Regions from separate parts of the Homo sapiens genome. Here region 2 is linked to region 1. Evidence: promoter capture Hi-C in human tissues and cell types (Jung and others, 2019). All regions are on one chromosome and are shown on one strand. Each heading gives the region's core, a stretch centred on a gene start or on the middle of the fragment in contact. The rest is flanking DNA. Distances are from core to core; before and after follow the strand shown. Region 1 holds the start of MRPS28 (mitochondrial ribosomal protein S28). Region 2 has its middle 5.6 kb from the start of STMN2.

Evidence for each region. The method cuts DNA at HindIII sites, captures the fragments that hold promoters and counts their contacts. A contact is called where the count stands out against the background at its distance.
Region 2: a contact is called between a fragment that was not itself captured here and the fragment with the promoter of MRPS28 in region 1, in 1 of the 25 tissues and cell types used here (lymphoblastoid cells).

The regions. Positions count from the first base shown.
Region 1 is chr8:80,028,049-80,032,197 of GRCh38, reverse strand. MRPS28 (mitochondrial ribosomal protein S28) reads left to right here and starts at 1,939. Exons shown (of 3, transcript NM_014018.3): 1 at 1,939-2,162. The coding sequence starts at 1,950. All of the region lies in intron 5 of TPD52-MRPS28 (TPD52-MRPS28 readthrough), which reads left to right. It also overlaps a transcript of TPD52 not described here. RefSeq lists an enhancer at 1,787-2,216. The HindIII fragment of the contact is 9,025 bases long and covers 1-4,149 here.
Region 2 is chr8:79,603,176-79,607,935 of GRCh38, reverse strand. No RefSeq gene overlaps it. Among named protein-coding and RNA genes, the nearest start is that of STMN2, 5.6 kb to the left of the region's middle. The HindIII fragment of the contact is 6,050 bases long and covers 1-4,331 here.

The DNA.
Region 1 (4,149 bases), core at 690-3,189:
CATTTGATACAAACTTACTCATTTTTTTTTTTTTTTTTTTTTTTTGAGCTGGAGTCTCGCTCTGTCACCCAGGCTGGAGAACAGTGGTGTGATCTTGGCTCACTGCAACCTCCACCTCCTGGGTTCAAGTGATTCTCCTGCCTCAGCCTCCTGAGTGGATGGGATTACAGCCATGTGTCATCACGCCCAGCTAATTTTTGTATTTTTAGTAGAGACAGGGTTTCACCATGTTGGCCAGGCTGATCTCGAACTCCTGACTTCAGGTGATCTGCCCTCCTTGGCCTCCCAAAGTGCTGGGATTACAGGTGTGAGCCACCACGCCAGGGGTGTGTTTTTACGGATACTTGAGTTTTGCACTTTTCACCCATGCTGGAGTGAAGTGGCAGGAACATAGCTCACTGCAGCCTCAAACTCCTGGGCTCAAGTGATCCTCCTCCATCAGCCTCCCAAGTAGCCGGGACTACAGGCATGCACCACTGCCCCAGGCTGATTTTTCTATTTTTTGGTAGAGACTGGTTCTTGCTATGGCCCAAGCTGGTCTCGGACTCCTCATCTCAAGCAATCCTCCCTCCTCAACCTCACAAAGTGCTGGGATTACAAGTGTAAGCCACCCTGCCCAGTCAGACTGAGGGTTCTTGAAGACCACTGGCCATGCTCTTTACAATTTACCACACTTTCTCCTGAAAAAAAGTGGAAGTAGCACTATCCGTAGAAAATAATGTTCTAGGCAAGAGTCCATTAATAGTCTCGGGAGATAAACAGTTTTAACTGCCAAGAGGGAGAACTCACCTGGAGAATTTAATGAATTTGTAAGGACTACCATACAGTTAGCTAGTAATAATTTTATGTGATTCATACAATTGTGCACCATTCTGAGATCAGTGTACTTCGTGTTCTTAACACTATCTGTACCATTAGAGAGCATCAGAAAAGCTTAAAACCCATAGTCAAGGCATTCTTAAAATAGGGTCTGTGATCATAAAAATTCTTTCTCTCGAAGTACTTGCAAATGAACTGGAAAGGTGTGTGCCCCCAAAATAAAACTAACTGTGGATTAATATTAAACTGCTGGGTCAAAGATAGACGGACAACTAATTAATAAACACTTAAGAATGATGTTAGGCTGTTTTGAACAGGGTGGGTAAATTTTGGGAATTAACACTGCAGGAGAAAAGGGAAAGAAAATCCAGAGTGAGGGTGGGGGCCTACGGCGGTGCAATACTTAGGGACATTCCAAAACTTCTGAACTCCTAAGTTAGATAATAGGTATCTAGAGGTGTCAAAACATTTCAGAAAAACTATTTTTGTGGCGTGAGTGGACTGGCTGCAGAAGTGGCAAAGGACAAACTTGGATGCAGGGTTTGGCAAATGTTGGGTGAGCCCTAATCTGTGCCTGGTGCTAGGGACCCTACAGCAAAGTTCCTCTTTTCAAAGTTTAAAAAGTTGGGAGTAGACACTAAATATTATTAAATATTTAATATTAATATGTGGCATATTAGAAAGTGCTACATGGTACTAAGAAAAACAGGTGCCAGAGAGTCTGCATTTGGGCTTCCACTTCTAAATAGGGTAATCAAGGAGACCCTCATATTTGAGTGAAGACCCCAAACTCGAGTGCTGGCGGCCATGTAGGGGGGACGGCAGGGCGGGAGAACGAGCGTCGCGTTAGCAGAATTTACAGTACAATGGGGTCCAACGGATGCCCAGGAAGGCGAAATTCCTGCAAGTTAAACGCACTTCTAACGCAAAACTTAACCAGGCCCCTTTCCAACTATTTAGCCCACCAATTTTAGCTTAAGTCTCTTCTTCCCCACGCCACTCCCAGATGAAAGGAAGACACGCCTCGTTGGCCTCCAGAGCTCTGCGTCCGGGGGGCGGACCTCTCATAGCTCCGCCCCGTGACCCGCGCGCTTGCGGAGGGGAGGTCAAAGGTCAGAGGTAAAGAAGTCATGGCGGCGCTGTGTCGGACCCGTGCTGTGGCTGCCGAGAGCCATTTTCTGCGAGTGTTTCTCTTCTTCAGGCCCTTTCGGGGTGTAGGCACTGAGAGTGGATCCGAAAGTGGTAGTTCCAATGCCAAGGAGCCTAAGACGCGCGCAGGCGGTTTCGCGAGCGCGTTGGAGCGGCACTCGGAGCTTCTACAGAAGGTGGAGCCCCTACAGAAGGTGGAGCCCGGGCGGGTGAGAGGGAGTCGCGGGAATTACGCCAACGACGCGGTGGGCGGGGTCGGGAATAGGGGCGGAGCCTGGCTTAGGAAGGGGAGCTGAGGTCCGGGGCCCAGTTTTCCGGAGTTGCGGTGCGTTGTGGCTCAGCCCTCGGCCCCTAGAATCTGTGCTTGGTGTTTTTCTTCCTTTCGTTGTCCTTTTGTGTGGCATTTGCGTACTGGGCCGGGTCTGTCCACACTGCGCTTGTTTTCCTGGGATTGAATGCTGGTGGGAAGGTAACCAGCGGGGAGCGCTGCTGGGGAGGCGATCTAGGGCGATTCCTGGGACGCTAAGGAGAATGGGACTCACACGGAGAGGCAGGGCTCTGCTGGGTCTTGTTCTGAACAGTAGCTCTAGCATGGAGCTTGCTGTCTGGAGTAGAAGGCCCTTCATAAACATTTGTTAATTTAATGACTGGGTGATGAATCACTTTCTGAACTTGGGCAAGTGATTTAACTTGTCAGCGCTTCACCTCTCTTTTGTAAATGTCTTCTTTTTTTAAAAAGTAAAGTAAAATCTCCGTTTGTCTCAGCCAGTACTTTTGTAAAATACCATAAATTTATAGATAAATGAAATGGAAGAAATAAAATTACAAGCCTAAGTTTTTAATAATTAAACTCAGCAGACATGAAATTGAATTATATACAAATAAACTCTCAATTTCTGTATTTTTCTTCCTAGGGAGTAGTACCAAACAGTTCACAAGACTGGCAGTGTCCTGGGTTATAGGGTCATTTTAGTAGCAATTACTGATGTCAAAATTTTTCTGAAATCCAAGGACTAGAAGAAGCCTGGTATATTAGTTTATTATTTTCTGTTGTAACAAATTACTACAAATTTAGTGGCGTAAAACACAGGAAATGTGTTGTTGTTAGGGTTGTGAGAAGTCAGACGGGATCTCACTGGTCTAAAATCAAGGTGTTGGTGAAGTTGTGTTCTTTTCCGTAGCTTCTAGGAGAATCTCTTCCTGGCCTGTCTTTTCTGCCTCTGTTTTCTACTTTTTTGTTTTTTGGATTTTTTTGTTTGTTTTGTTGTTTTTTGAGACAGGGTCTCGCTCTGTCACCCACGCTGGAGTGTGGTGGCATGATCTCAGTTCACTGCTAAACCCCCTGGGCTCAAGTGATCCTCCTGCTTCATAGCTGGGACCGCAGGTGTGCACCACCACTCTGGGCTAATTGTTTTTTCTGTTTTTTTTTGTAGAGATGGGGTTTTGCCATGTTGCCCAGGCTGGTCTTGAACTCCTGGGTTCAAGTGATCCTCCTGCGTTGGCCTCCCAAAGTGCTGGGATTACAGATGACAGATGTGAGCCACCTGGCCTGGCTGACCCCGCCCGGCCCCGCCCCCCCCGCCCGTCTTCTGCTTTTGAGATCCCTGTGATTACATTGGCCTCCCTAGATAATCTATTTTAAGATCAGCTGATTAGCAATCTTAATTCCACCTGCAAAGTTAATTCTCCTTTGCCACGGAAGGTAACATATTCACAAATTCTAGAGATTAGGATGTGGATGTCTTTGTAGGGGGAGGGGGCATTATTCTTTCTACCATATATGGAGAAGTCATAAAATACTAGCAGAATAGCGATGATTGACCTGAAGCCACCTAAGGGATGGATTTTAGATCCATCCTTAAGGTAAGGCCATAAGAGTTAAGTGCAGTAAGGTTGGAAACATAGAGTTCAGTGCTCCCTTCCAAATATATGTATAGGAAAGGAGTTTTTCTATTTCTTACCTAATATTTCTCACTCACGCTTCGCTCCCATTCATACCACATTCTAAGCCCCTTCGGAAACCCCCCAAAATAATTCTCAATTGCTGAGTTAACTGTGGTAAGAGTGAAAATTGTAGCATCACATGTATAGTAAGTTAAGTGTTTGAAACTAAAAATGTACTGTTTATTTAATGAAGGAAACAACCAAGGTGTTTTAGAGTCCCCAGAATTCCCTTTCCTT
Region 2 (4,760 bases), core at 57-2,556, 420 kb after region 1:
TACCAGTGTTTATTTATTTATATCCTGCCCTATTCCCAAAGAACCTAAATGAGTAGAGCTCACAATAGTAGATGGCCCTTGTTAATTTTTGTTATCTTTAACAGCCAGCAGTAAGCTGGAGCTGTGGAAATCACAGACTTGCTAACAGAAATTTTAATTATTGTGGGTTATAGCCTAGTGTGTATTATCTCTGTGAGGAGGCCTGAGGTGTTGATTTCTTTCCAAACCAGAGAGAAGCAGTTGCTTTGGAGGATTAGCTGATGCCATCTAACACAGTCATATGATTTTCTGCTATTCATAATCAAGTGCCTGGGAAAGAATCCTAAAGTAATTATTAAAAGTTAGTGAGATAAGAGAAACATTGTTAAGGTCAAATTAATTGTTTTGATCTGACCTCAGGTGATTACAAAAGAAATGTGAGAGATAAAATCCATTGAATTTTTTTAGATGTTTAGAAATTTAGGATATAAAGTAGTTATAGCTGAAGATATTTAGAGATGCATCTAAAATAATCACACATGAAAAAATAGTTGACTTTTTAACATTTTGATTATTTTGCCATGTTTAAATTCTTATAGATTAATGAAAAATAAAAAGGATCATGTGTCCTTTAATAGAACTGTCTAATATGGTTTATTCAAAAGGAAAGTCATTCCAAGGAGGGAGAGTTGGTGTTCTTTATTAGCAGTGAGCTCTGTATTGCTCAGGAATTTGCCAGTGTGTTAGAGTTATTTCTGAAGTGTGGAACAAACACACTTCATTGTTTTCTTCTTAAATTAGTTATTTAAAAATAAACAATGATTAGTTAATTATTATTATTTTTTCTCTACCTAGGGTTTTCTTTATGTCCAAATGGGACTTGTATGTATTAATAATTAGTATAATTCACCCTGAAGCAAAATGACTTATTGAAATTAGTAAATCCTATTGATAGTTTTATAATTGAACTTTTCTGGAAATAAACTTGTTCTAATCATAAGAAAGGCTTGATATAAATTTAATGAGCTGAATCTTTACATTAAATTGATAATGTTGAAAACTACTCGCTATCTTGGCAGCAATTACTGTAACTAACTTTTTCCTTCTCTCCATGAGTTGATTTACAGCTTGAGTCCAGGGAGAACATTAGTTGGACACCATTGAAGCTGGGAAGTTGGTTCCCCTTGAGATTTCACTCAGCATCTTAGTTTACAAACCAAACAGTGGAGACAACACTGAAGTGCCTGGAAGAGAAATCTGGGAGAAGTGTGACTCACTCTGTTTATCCCACAAGCCTCAATTTATTTTATTTTTTAAACAGAACCCCTACTGTGAGCATTGCATTATACATACAATAACAGTTGCCTAAGAACCTTATTTTTCTAAATCAAGCTGAAAAGAGGAGGAGGAGGATTTAGGGAAGAGAAAAGCAAAAGCATTTTAGTATACTGCCTTCCTGGGAGATTTTCTCATTAGTCATTTATTAACTAATTTTCTGACCCTCTGAACTTCCCCCACCCACATCCTGCTGTGTTATCAAATGGAATTGAATTAACGGATGTAGGTAGTATTTTTAAAAATCAATTTCATCAAATATTTACTTTGACAGTAACATTAGACTTGAACTCGGCCGGGTGCGGTGGCTCACGCCTGTAATCCCAGCACTTTGGGAGGCCGAGGCGGGTGGATCACGAGGTCAGGAGATCGAGACCATCCTGGCTAACATGGTGAAACCCCGTCTCTACTAAAAAATAGAAAAAATTAGCCGGGCATAGTGGCAGGCTCCTGTAGTCCCAGCTACTCCAGAAGCTGAGGCAGGAGAATGGCTTGAACCCGGGAGGCGGAGCTTGCAGTGAGCCGAGATCATGCCACTGCACTCCAGCCTGGGCGACAGAGCGAGACTCCGTTTCCAAAAAAAAAAAAAAAAAAAAAAAAAAAGAAAAAAAACACATTAAACTTGAACTCAACTAGAGACAACAAAACCCCATTCCACTCTTTTTTTTCCTCTCGTCACATATTTAATGGATTTTTCTGTTTTTGGTTTGATCACTTCCTGAACTACACCTATCTTTTTAGTTCAGTTCAGCAAAAACAGAGCAATGTGCAGTTAGGCGGCAAATGCTGCCTTTTGAGGCAGAAAAGAAATTGCCCAGAGATTTGCAGATGTGTTATTTGGGTTTATTTAGAATGCGCAGGAAACGTCCTCTTTTGGAAAGAGGATTTCAATAGCTTGAATATTTACATCAAAATATAAAAATATTGTACTTATATTTTTGTCATAAACTATTTCAAATGGACACAAGAAAGCAAATAATGAACTTGTATTAGTCAAGTTAAGAAATTACCAAAACTTTATTGCTTCTGTTTCTTTTTCCTTTTTCATCTTTGCTGAAAACTTTAAAAGGAAGTCACGACAATCATTTAAATTCACTCTTTGTAGTTAAGTATGTATCTCTATAAAACATGAACCTTTCTTACATAAATACAATTCTGTTAAAATACTTAACAATTATAATCACATTTTCATGATTGTCTCAAGAATACTGTTGCTTTGTTTAAAACAGGACCCAAATATGGTCCGCATATTCTATTCACTTTTATGTTTCTCAAATCTCTTTTAATCTGGTACAATCCTCCCTTCATTTTTAAAATTCCCACCATTGGCTTTTTGTAGAAACTGGGTCAATTGTCCTATGAACTTTCTTACATTTTGGATGTGACTCTTTGCTTCCAATGTGGTCACTTAACTTGTTCCTGTCCTCTGTAAATGAAAGTCAATTTTGAAGCTTGATTAAATTCAGGACCATCTCACCAAAGAATAACTCAGTTTAATTAAAAGCATGGCTGATATCTATTCACATGTGCTGGAGATCAGTCATGAAACCAGACAAGGGGGGATTTATAAAAACAAAACCTACAGCAGCCTGAGGAACAGTGAAATATTGTTTTTTGTCTATGGGCAAGCTGATTAATTAAAACCTATCAGGGAGAGCATTTTCCCCAAAGCAGACTGGCAGTTATCACAGAAGGCAACTTTATTTATGAGGCTTTGGAGAAATCTTGTTACTAAAAGTGACAGAAAGTGATGTTTTATTTCTAGGTGTGGCTGCTGTTGAACTCTGCTGGACTTCTGCTGAGCCCTTCACCTTAGTTAAGCTAGGAGTGCACCATTTCTCTACTACAGTAAAGTTGTTCCTCTTTTAGCCAAAGTCTGCTGAGTGAGCTGTGATAGCTTCAGTCTTTTTGATGCAGAATTGTAATGAACTGAATATTTATGTCCCCACTCAAATTCATATGCTGAAATCCTAACCTCCAAGGTGATGGTACTAGGAGGTGGCACCTTTGGGAGATGATAAAGTCGTGAGCGGGGGTGACTTATGAGTGGGATTAGTGACCTTATACAAAAGACCCCAGAGAGCTGCCTTGGCTCCTATCACAAGTGAGGATACAGCTAGAAGGTGCCATGTATGAGCCAGAAGACGAGCCCTCGCCAGCAATCAAATCTGCCAGCACCTTGATCTTGGAGTTCTTAGCCTTCGGAACTGTGAGAAATAAATTTCTGTTGTCTAAAAGCTAAAGAGTTTGTGGTATTTTTGTCATAGCAGCCTATATGGATTCAGATATAGCTGAGTGTCAGCCTAGCATAATGGCACTATAGTAATTTTTAAAGTAATTGCATCTCATTCAGAAGAAAATGAGGACCATTATAAATGTCAAAAGAAACGTTTGAAATCCCATCTTGTATTTAGTTTTGAAATGGCCTATAACCAACTAGGAGAACAAGTCCCATGGATCAGTTTGGGCAACCTTATTTATGCTTTTTTTAAAAAAATCAAATTAATGGTTCCACTTTTCCTGAAGTGTTTATCCAGGTATTGGTTACTGTATTGACTCAATAGATGGTTGACCTGTAAATAGTCAGGAAAAATTTTATTAGCTAGATTAGTCTAGCCAATACATTTATGCTGGTTGGTTGGACTTCTCAAACTTGAGCTGCTTTATTTGTTTTTTGGTCCTAGTTATAAAATGAGGATCACACATTTCAGTCTAAAGAAAAAACACTACTGATATTTGGTGTCTTGCATATTTTCTGGTAAGTTACCATGTCAGGCTCCCCACAAAATATGAGAAATAGTAGAATTTTTTTTTTAGTCCTTACAAAGATGATCTGGACAAAGAATAGGTCACATTTTGATGTCATTAGCATGAGAGGCCTATCTAATTAAATAGGAAAAATAATCTTTTGGGTGAATATAGAAGGGACATGAAAATAATCAGTTGGTATCAGTTGCCACCTAAATGTATTTGGTCTAATTGCAAAGAACAAACATTCTACATAAATTTAAACAAGTCGTGAAGTTTCTGAATTAATTCATGACAAAACAGTTCAATCATAAGTTGCATTATTAGTCACGTGTTCCTTGTTATCCTTACCTCCCATAGGTGACTTTGAGGCTCTGGATATATAAGTAACAGTAGCAACTGTGAGGAGGGACCTACAGTTAAGTTGAGGCATGTGGAATAGATGTGTTTGAGTTAATATTTTTTATATGTGCCTGAGCCATATAAAAAATTGTGCAATTGGCAGTGTCTGCAGCGGTGGCAACTGTCTGTTTCAATGATCTACTTCTGTAAGTTTCTTACTTTTGGAGGCCTTTTAGTGAGCTCAGGGTTAGATATCCAGTGGGGATGGATATTCATGTTGTAAGATCCTTAATATGTTTGCATTAAGAAGTATAAGTCCATGGGTCCTGTGTTCTGGAGTTTACAAGCAGCAGTAG